Linked DNA regions of Homo sapiens: all the other regions are linked to region 1. Evidence: promoter capture Hi-C in human tissues and cell types (Jung and others, 2019). All regions are on one chromosome and are shown on one strand. The core of a region is centred on a gene start or on the middle of the fragment in contact, and the rest is flanking DNA. Distances in the headings are between cores, read along the strand shown.

Evidence for each region. Contacts are between HindIII fragments. The study calls those that stand out against the background at their distance.
Region 2: a contact is called between a fragment that was not itself captured here and the fragment with the promoter of THPO in region 1, in 1 of the 25 tissues and cell types used here (thymus).
Region 3: a contact is called between a fragment that was not itself captured here and the fragment with the promoter of THPO in region 1, in 4 of the 25 tissues and cell types used here (IMR-90 fibroblasts, aorta, bladder and 1 more).

What each region holds. Positions count from the first base shown.
Region 1 is chr3:184,376,858-184,379,549 of GRCh38, reverse strand. It overlaps THPO (thrombopoietin), which reads left to right and starts at 1,343. Exons shown (of 6, transcript NM_000460.4): 1 at 1,343-1,475. The HindIII fragment of the contact is 16,052 bases long and covers 1-2,692 here.
Region 2 is chr3:184,847,300-184,849,991 of GRCh38, reverse strand. It overlaps VPS8 (VPS8 subunit of CORVET complex), which reads right to left. Exons shown (of 48, transcript NM_001009921.3): 9 at 797-921; 10 at 1-56. Among named protein-coding and RNA genes, the nearest start is that of VPS8, 36 kb to the right of the region's middle. The HindIII fragment of the contact is 4,598 bases long and covers 1-2,692 here.
Region 3 is chr3:184,829,911-184,832,602 of GRCh38, reverse strand. All of the region lies in intron 3 of VPS8 (VPS8 subunit of CORVET complex), which reads right to left. Among named protein-coding and RNA genes, the nearest start is that of VPS8, 19 kb to the right of the region's middle. The HindIII fragment of the contact is 4,523 bases long and covers 1-2,692 here.

The DNA.
Region 1 (2,692 bases), core at 94-2,593:
CCCAAACCCTCACCACCCTCTCTCACTGCCTAGCCTGCCTCCCTACCTTCTCTCTGAGGTCGCTCCTCATTCTTGTGTTACCCAGGACAGGGACCTAGCCAGAAACCGGCAGCATTCCCCCTTCTGTGGAGTGACAGTATCTCCCTCTCATTGTAACTTATCCTCAGGCGCATTCGACAGTCCCCTCTTGCTTTCTCACCCCCTTCCTTCACCCAAGGGACCCTCTGCCTCTCCAGCCCACTCCCAGCCTCCTTTCTCTTGGTTCCCTGGTCATGCCTGCCTCCCTGTCTCCTGTCTCTCCCTCCCACACACACCCACTATCCTCCCAGCTATCCCAGCACCCTCCTTCCTAATCTTGGGAGACATCTCGTCTGGCTGGACGGGAAAATTCCAGGATCTAGGCCACACTTCTCAGCAGACATGCCCATCCTTGGGGAGGAGGAACAGGAGAGAGCCTGAGGAAGTTCTGGGGGACAGGGGGATGATGGGATCAAGGTCAGGCCAGGAAGCCCCTGAGGACAGAGACTGTGGGGAGACTGGGACTGGGAAGAAAGCAAAGGAGCTAGAGCCAGGGCCAAAGGAAAAGGGGGGCCAGCAGGGAGGTATTTGCGGGGGAGGTCCAGCAGCTGTCTTTCCTAAGACAGGGACACATGGGCCTGGTTATTCCTCTTGTCACATGTGGAACGGTAGGAGATGGAAGACGGAGACAGAACAAGCAAAGGAGGGCCCTGGGCACAGAGGTCTGTGTGTGTAGCCATCTAAGCCACTGGACCCCAGCAGACGAGCACCTAAGCTCAGGCTTAACCCAGTGCACGTGTGCGCACATACATGTGCCCCGCACCTGACAGTCCACTCAACCCGTCCAAACCCTTTCCCCATAACACCAACCCATAACAGGAGATTTCTCTCATGTGGGCAATATCCGTGTTCCCACTTCGAAAGGGGGAATGACAAGATAGGACTCCCTAGGGGATTACAGAAAGAAAAGCAGGAAAGCAAGCATCCTGTTGGATTTCAGCAGCAGGTATGATGTCCAGGGAAAAGAAATTTGGATAGCCAGGGAGTGAAAACCCCACCAATCTTAAACAAGACCTCTGTGCTTCTTCCCCAGCAACACAAATGTCCTGCCAGATTCCTCCTGGAAAAAAACTTCTGCTCCTGTCCCCCTCCAGGTCCCAGGTTGCCCATGTCCAGGAAAAGATGGATCCCCCTATCCAAATCTTCTCCGTGGTGTGTGTGGGTGGAGGAGTGGACCCTGGTCCAGGCAGGGGCTCCAGGGAAGAGAAGGCGTCACTTCCGGGGGCCTTCACCAGTGTCTGGTGGCTCCCTTCTCTGATTGGGCAGAAGTGGCCCAGGCAGGCGTATGACCTGCTGCTGTGGAGGGGCTGTGCCCCACCGCCACATGTCTTCCTACCCATCTGCTCCCCAGAGGGCTGCCTGCTGTGCACTTGGGTCCTGGAGCCCTTCTCCACCCGGTGAGTGGCCAGCAGGGTGTGGGGTTATGTGAGGGTAGAAAGGACAGCAAAGAGAAATGGGCTCCCAGCTGGGGGAGGGGCAGGCAAACTGGAACCTACAGGCACTGACCTTTGTCGAGAAGAGTGTAGCCTTCCCAGAATGGGAGGAGCAGGGCAGAGCAGGGGTAGGGGGTGGGGTGCTGGTTTCTGAGGGACTGATCACTTACTTGGTGGAATACAGCACAGCCCTGGCTGGCCCTAAGGAAAGGGGACATGAGCCCAGGGAGAAAATAAGAGAGGGAGCTGCACTTAGGGCTTAGCAAACACAGTAGTAAGATGGACACAGCCCCAATCCCCATTCTTAGCTGGTCATTCCTCGTTAGCTTAAGGTTCTGAATCTGGTGCTGGGGAAGCTGGGCCAGGCAAGCCAGGGCGCAAGGAGAGGGTAATGGGAGGAGGGCCCACTCATGTTGACAGACCTACAGGAAATCCCAATATTGAATCAGGTGCAAGCCTCTTTGCACAACTTGTGAAAGGAGGAGGAAGCCATGTGGGGGGTCCTGTGAAGGAACCGGAAGGGGTTCTGCCAAGGGGGCAGGGAGGCAGGTGTGAGCTATGAGACAGATATGTTAGTGGGCGCCTAAGACAAGGTAAGCCCCTAAGGTGGGCATCACCCAGCAGGTGCCCGTTCCTGGGCAGCTGGTCTCAGGAAGGAAGTCCCAGAACTGTTAGCCCATCTCTTGGCCTCAGATAATGGAGTATTTCAGGACTTGGAGTCCAGAGAAAAGCTCCAGTGGCTTTATGTGTGGGGGTAGATAGGGAAAGAATAGAGGTTAATTTCTCCCATACCGCCTTTTAATCCTGACCTCTAGTGGTCCCAGTTACAGCTTTGTGCAGTTCCCCTCCCCAGCCCCACTCCCCACCGCAGAAGTTACCCCTCAACATATTGCGCCCGTTTGCCAGTTCCTCACCCAGGCCCTGCATCCCATTTTCCACTCTCTTCTCCAGGCTGAAGCCACAATACTTTCCTTCTCTATCCCCATCCCAGATTTTCTCTGACCTAACAACCAAGGTTGCTCAGAATTTAAGGCTAATTAAGATATGTGTGTATACATATCATGTCCTGCTGCTCTCAGCAGGGGTAGGTGGCACCAAATCCATGTCCGATTCACTGAGGAGTCCTGACAAAAAGGAGACACCATATGCTTTCTTGCTTTCTTTCTTTCTTTCTTTCTTTC
Region 2 (2,692 bases), core at 89-2,588, 470 kb before region 1:
TGAGCATCTGTTATTGATCTTAGAAGTTTTCCACTGGCCAAATCCCACATGGTGATCTATAAGACAACTAAGTGCTTCAAAAACAAATTTATTGCTCTTTTTTTGGACTTAAGTATCCTGCCTTCTGGCTGGAATAATCTATTCCTTGACTATAAACATTGCAGGCAAAGAACTATAAAGTTAAAACATACCTAAAGGTTGCAGATCCATTAAAGCATAGAGCCTTTATTCGATCTTCATTTACCCTTCATCCTGCCCATCCTACTTCTCCCTTTAGATTTTAAATGTTGTTCTCATACTGAGAGACAAAAGATATTTCTCTAATAAGTCAATCTGTTTAGCACTAGTAAAAAGTATCGGAAAGGCTTACTGCCAAACTAGCTAGTGATGTATGAATCAGAAGATAAAAAAACCATAATCTAATGCCAGTTTCAGAAGAAGAAAGAAATGCAAAAATCGTTATCCAGGAACACAGAATCTTTCTAAAAAGCAGCCTCCATTATTTACACGACTGTAAGGAAGTACATTTTATATAACATCCCTGGTTGGTTTACAAAAATTATTTACTCAAATAGACACATGAACTAGGATATAAAAAATTACAGACTCTGGGTCAGTCGATAACAATTATGTAAAATTTTGAACAAGACAAAACTCAGATTCAGCAATCTCTGGTTAGCTCTACAAACATATTACTTCATAACACGTATTTTGGTCTTTGATCTAAGATGTAAGTTTTTGTAAATTCATCTTGTTTTAACATTGTCTTATGAATTAAAGGAGGTTCATATCTTACCTGTCCTTTAGCAAAGCCACAAAGAAGTCTTGAGCAATCATTGTTGATACTGAGGGCAGAGATAGCGCCATACTGACCTCCAACACTAGTGCTACCCAGACAGAGTCGCAAAGCTTGATTCTGATCTAAAGAAAGCAGTTTTTAAAGTCAAGTGAAGGAAATGCAAGAGAGTAAATACATCGAGTACAGGCATGCTTTCAAAGACTTGGGAGGTGACAAGAATCAAAAGCAGCAGATAATGAAGTCACATTCATTTTTAAATATATTTATTGAGCAACTAGCAGATGCTGGGCGTTGAATTAGACACTTAAAAATACAGAAAAAAAAGGCCGGGTGCGGTGGCTCATGCCTGTAATCCCAGCATTTTGGAAGGCCGAGGTGGGTGGATCACCTGAGGTCAGGAGTTCGAGACCAGGCTGGCCAACATGGTGAAACCCCGACTCTACTAAAAATACAAAAATTAGCTGGGCATGGTGGCCCACGCCTGTAGTCCCAGCTACTCCAGAGGCTGAGGCACAAGAATCACTTAAACTTGGGAGGCAGAGGTTGCAGTCAGCTGAGATCACACTACCGCACTCCAGCCTGCACAGCAGAGTGAGACATGGTCTCAAAAAAAAAAAAAAAAAAAAAAGAATACAGGAAAAAAAAAAGATCTACAAGGAAGCATAATAAAAAATGCTAATGATAAGCCAAAAAATCCACATGTAATCTGTATCTCCTTAAACAAACCGTCACCTGTCTCATCCTAGAATTGTATTTCTTGCTATTTTTAAGATGCAAAGTTATCGGGAATACCATCGTCTTTTAAAATAACTATAAAACTTCAAAACTCAAGAAACTTAATTTAGAATTTGGCTGAAATTTACATTTATATTATCCATAAAGAAAATTTACTAAGCTAATTAACGGTGCAAATTACAGAGTAAACATTTAAACAGCTTCAGAAAATTATTTCAAACATCAAAATTTGATATGCTAAAAGTGGCTAGGCACGGTGGCTCACACCTGTAATCCCAGCACTTTGGGAGGCTGAGGAAGGGAAGGTCACTTGAGGTTAGGAGTTCGAGACCAGCCTGGCCAACACAGTGAAACTCCATCTCCACTAATATAAAAAATATAGCCGGGTGTGGTGGTGGGCACCTGTAATCCTAGCTACTTGGGAGGCTGAGGCAGGAGAATTGCTTGAACCCAGAAGGCAAAGGTTGCAGTGAACTGAGATCATGCCACTGCACTCCAGCTTGGGAGACAGAGAAAGACTCCATCTCAAAAACAAACAAACAAACAAACAAAATATGCTAAAAGCAAGCAATTCAAATATCTATTAGATTAAGTTTGTTAAGGGTGATAAGGGCGAGGATCTTGCCTTAATCACCTCTGATTTCTCCAGGAGGCACTCAAATATTTATTAAATTCTGTTATCTAATAATTAAAAGAAATTTCTCTAGGGTTTCTCCTAGGCAATGCTTATTTTGTCTAGAGTTCATTATTATACCCACTTGAAAACAATGAAATTAAAAATTTAAATGTCAGAATGCATGCCTACAAAATTTAACTATTTAGAAAAATGCAAAAAACACCATATTTCCACAACTTGGAGTTTTCGCAACTTCCCCAGCACTGTTTGTGTCTCCCTTAATTATCTACATGTGAATTTTGGGGTATGTCTTACCTCCCCTATTACACTATGACCTCTCTGAGGGCTAAGATCATGAGTGAATTAACACTCCCAAAGCACCTTGCTTAATGCCTTGTGCTTAGAAGGCATCTGACAATCATCTGAATAGCTTTCACATTTGCCAGTTCTCCTTCTATAAAAGTAAATCTAGTTATCAGACACAGTCACTCATTCTCAGGTCTAGGGAATAATATTAGGTCAGTCCTTTTGCCCATTCAGAG
Region 3 (2,692 bases), core at 124-2,623, 450 kb before region 1:
ACAAGTGCTTATTTCTGCTTTTCGCCTCTATTCCATGCATTCTTATTGACCAGAAAGAAACCATACAGAATTACTAGTATTAAATTCTAGACAGCTATTTCTCTCTACAAAGAAGTCACCCCAAAACTTCTTTCGTGTAGCAGGAAGAAGCAGGAGCAGTATGCAGATTACTGTTAGCTGTAGAATATTTCTTAAAAATCAAGCTTTTACAGATGATTTAGCAGTTAACTAACAGCCAATGGCTAATTTGAAGAAAACAAACACCATCTGACTATAAATAGTCTACTATAAAAAAAAATGACAAGCAGACAGCAGAAAGGCATTCTGGGTAGGAAACAGTGCAGAAAGGCATTCTGGGTAGGAAACAGCACAGAAAGACACAGTGATTTCACAATACAGATTTTGTCCATGGGAAAAGTAGTAGTCCAAAATGTCTGGAGGATATAAGCAGAAGTTGGAGATGACCCTAGAAAGATAAGCTGGTACCCAAACCATGAAAAGCCTTATATGCCATTACACTAGATGGCAGCAGGGCCCATGTCTATCTTGTTCATCATTGTACCTCTAGTGCCTAGTATAATGCCTGACACATAACCAGTACTCATTTAATGAATATTTAGTATACTATATATAGCAGGCAGTGGGAAGGCAACTGACATTTTTAAGAAGTGGAAAGACATGATGGGAACCATGTTTTAAAAAGATAGGTGGGGCAGTATGAAGAATGGATGAGGCGAGACAAGAAGACTTTAAGGACCAGTAAGAGGGCTATTGCACTATCAAGGAAAAACGGGAGATCCCAACCTAAGAAGCTGCAGAAGAAGTCAACAGAGGGAATGATGAACACATTACGGAGAAAAAATCAAACGTCTCTGGTTACCATTGAAATGGGGGGTTGAGTAGGAGTACGGATGGGAGGAGAGGTAAGGGAGAAGTCACAGAAGAGTACAAGGTTTCCAGCTTCTACAACCAGGTAAAAGGTGACTCTACTCACTGAAATTAGAAAGCAGACAAATGGCAGATAAAGCAGGATGAGGAACTTGGCTTTGCCCAAGTTGATTCTGAGTGACAAACATCAGAGAACAATGTCTCACCGTCTCTTTCAGCTGCACTACCTTCTGCCTTACCACTTCCAATCAATGTACTTGAGAGATTAATGTCTACTCACTACCTCGATCCACTCATTACAAGCTCCTACCGACCTTGCTGATGCTACTAGCCAAATCCACTGGCCTGCTTTCTGTTAGCATGTTCTTGTTCTCCAGGCATCATTTAATCCTGTTGACCATTCCCTGTCACCCAGGCCGGTGTGCAGTAGCACAATCACAGCTCACTGCAGCCTCAAATTCCTGGCCTCAAGCAATCTTCCACTCCAGCCTCCAAGAAGCTGGGACTACAGGTGCATGCCACCACGCCTGGCTCATTCACTACATCTCGAAGCTTTCTTTTCCTTTAGTTTTCGGTACATCTCTCCTTCCTGGTTCTCCGCTAACTTATGTGTCCTCCTATTAGTCACATGCTAGCTTCTTCTCAGCCCAACCTTTAAATACGATTGTCCCCCAGGATTATATTCTAAGCTCTCATCTTCTCTTCCTACTTCATGGACTTCCTATTTGAGTAAGCTCATCCATATCTATAGCTTTAAGAACCATGTTATCTAATGACTCCAAAATCTGTGTCTTTAGCATCAACATTTCTCAAGGTTTAGGTCCAAATTTACCATTGCTTTCCAGATATCTCTACACATAGGTCTTCTAAAAAGAGGGTTAGGACTGGCAATAAGACATTATGTTGCTTAAGTGCTATAAAGATTGGAACGATTGCTGTAGGAAAAGGGAAGGAAATAATTCAGAAATAAATACAGCAGCATCAAGATCTTAAACAAGAGAGTCAATCAAAATGTTATTTGATTTTCTTAAAAAGCCTGGGGACATAATTAAAGAAAATGGATCAGATGAATTAAGCCAGGCTTACAGGATAAGTGAAAGAAAAAGTGAAGGGAAAAAAAGAAGTGAAGATGTCAAGACTGAATTTAAAACTACTGCTACACAGTAAAAGTATCAATTATCCCCAAACTGATGTGAAAAAAACTGCACAATCCTTTCAAATTTCAGCTGATTTGTGTGTGTGTGTGTGTGTGTGTGTGTGAACTGATAAACTAATTCTAAAACTTACATGAAAATGCAAAAAAATAAATAAATAAATAAGGCAATCTTGAAGAATAACATCAAAGCTGGAAGATTTTAAACTACCAGATATCAAGACCTATTATAAAGTTTCAATCACTAGAATGTGAGATCGAGGCAAGTATGGACACACCAATGGACTCAGATCCACACCTATATGATTACCTGATTTATAACAAAGGTGACACCAGATGAGAATACTCTTTTTAGTACATGGTGCTGGCTCATAGCTCACACTATCACACCCAAAAAAAATTCCAGATGAATTACAGATCTACATATGAAAGGAACAACAATGAAGATTTTAGAACAAAATAGGGTAACATCATCATAACATCAGAATTGGAAAAATTTTCTTAAATAGGACACACACACGCACACGAATGGAAAATTTTAATAAGCTGAACTATATTAAGAACTTGTGCTCCTCAAAAGAAACCATTAATAGAGTGAAAAGGTAATGTACAGAAAGAAAGAAGATAAAATATGTACATCAAATAAAGGGC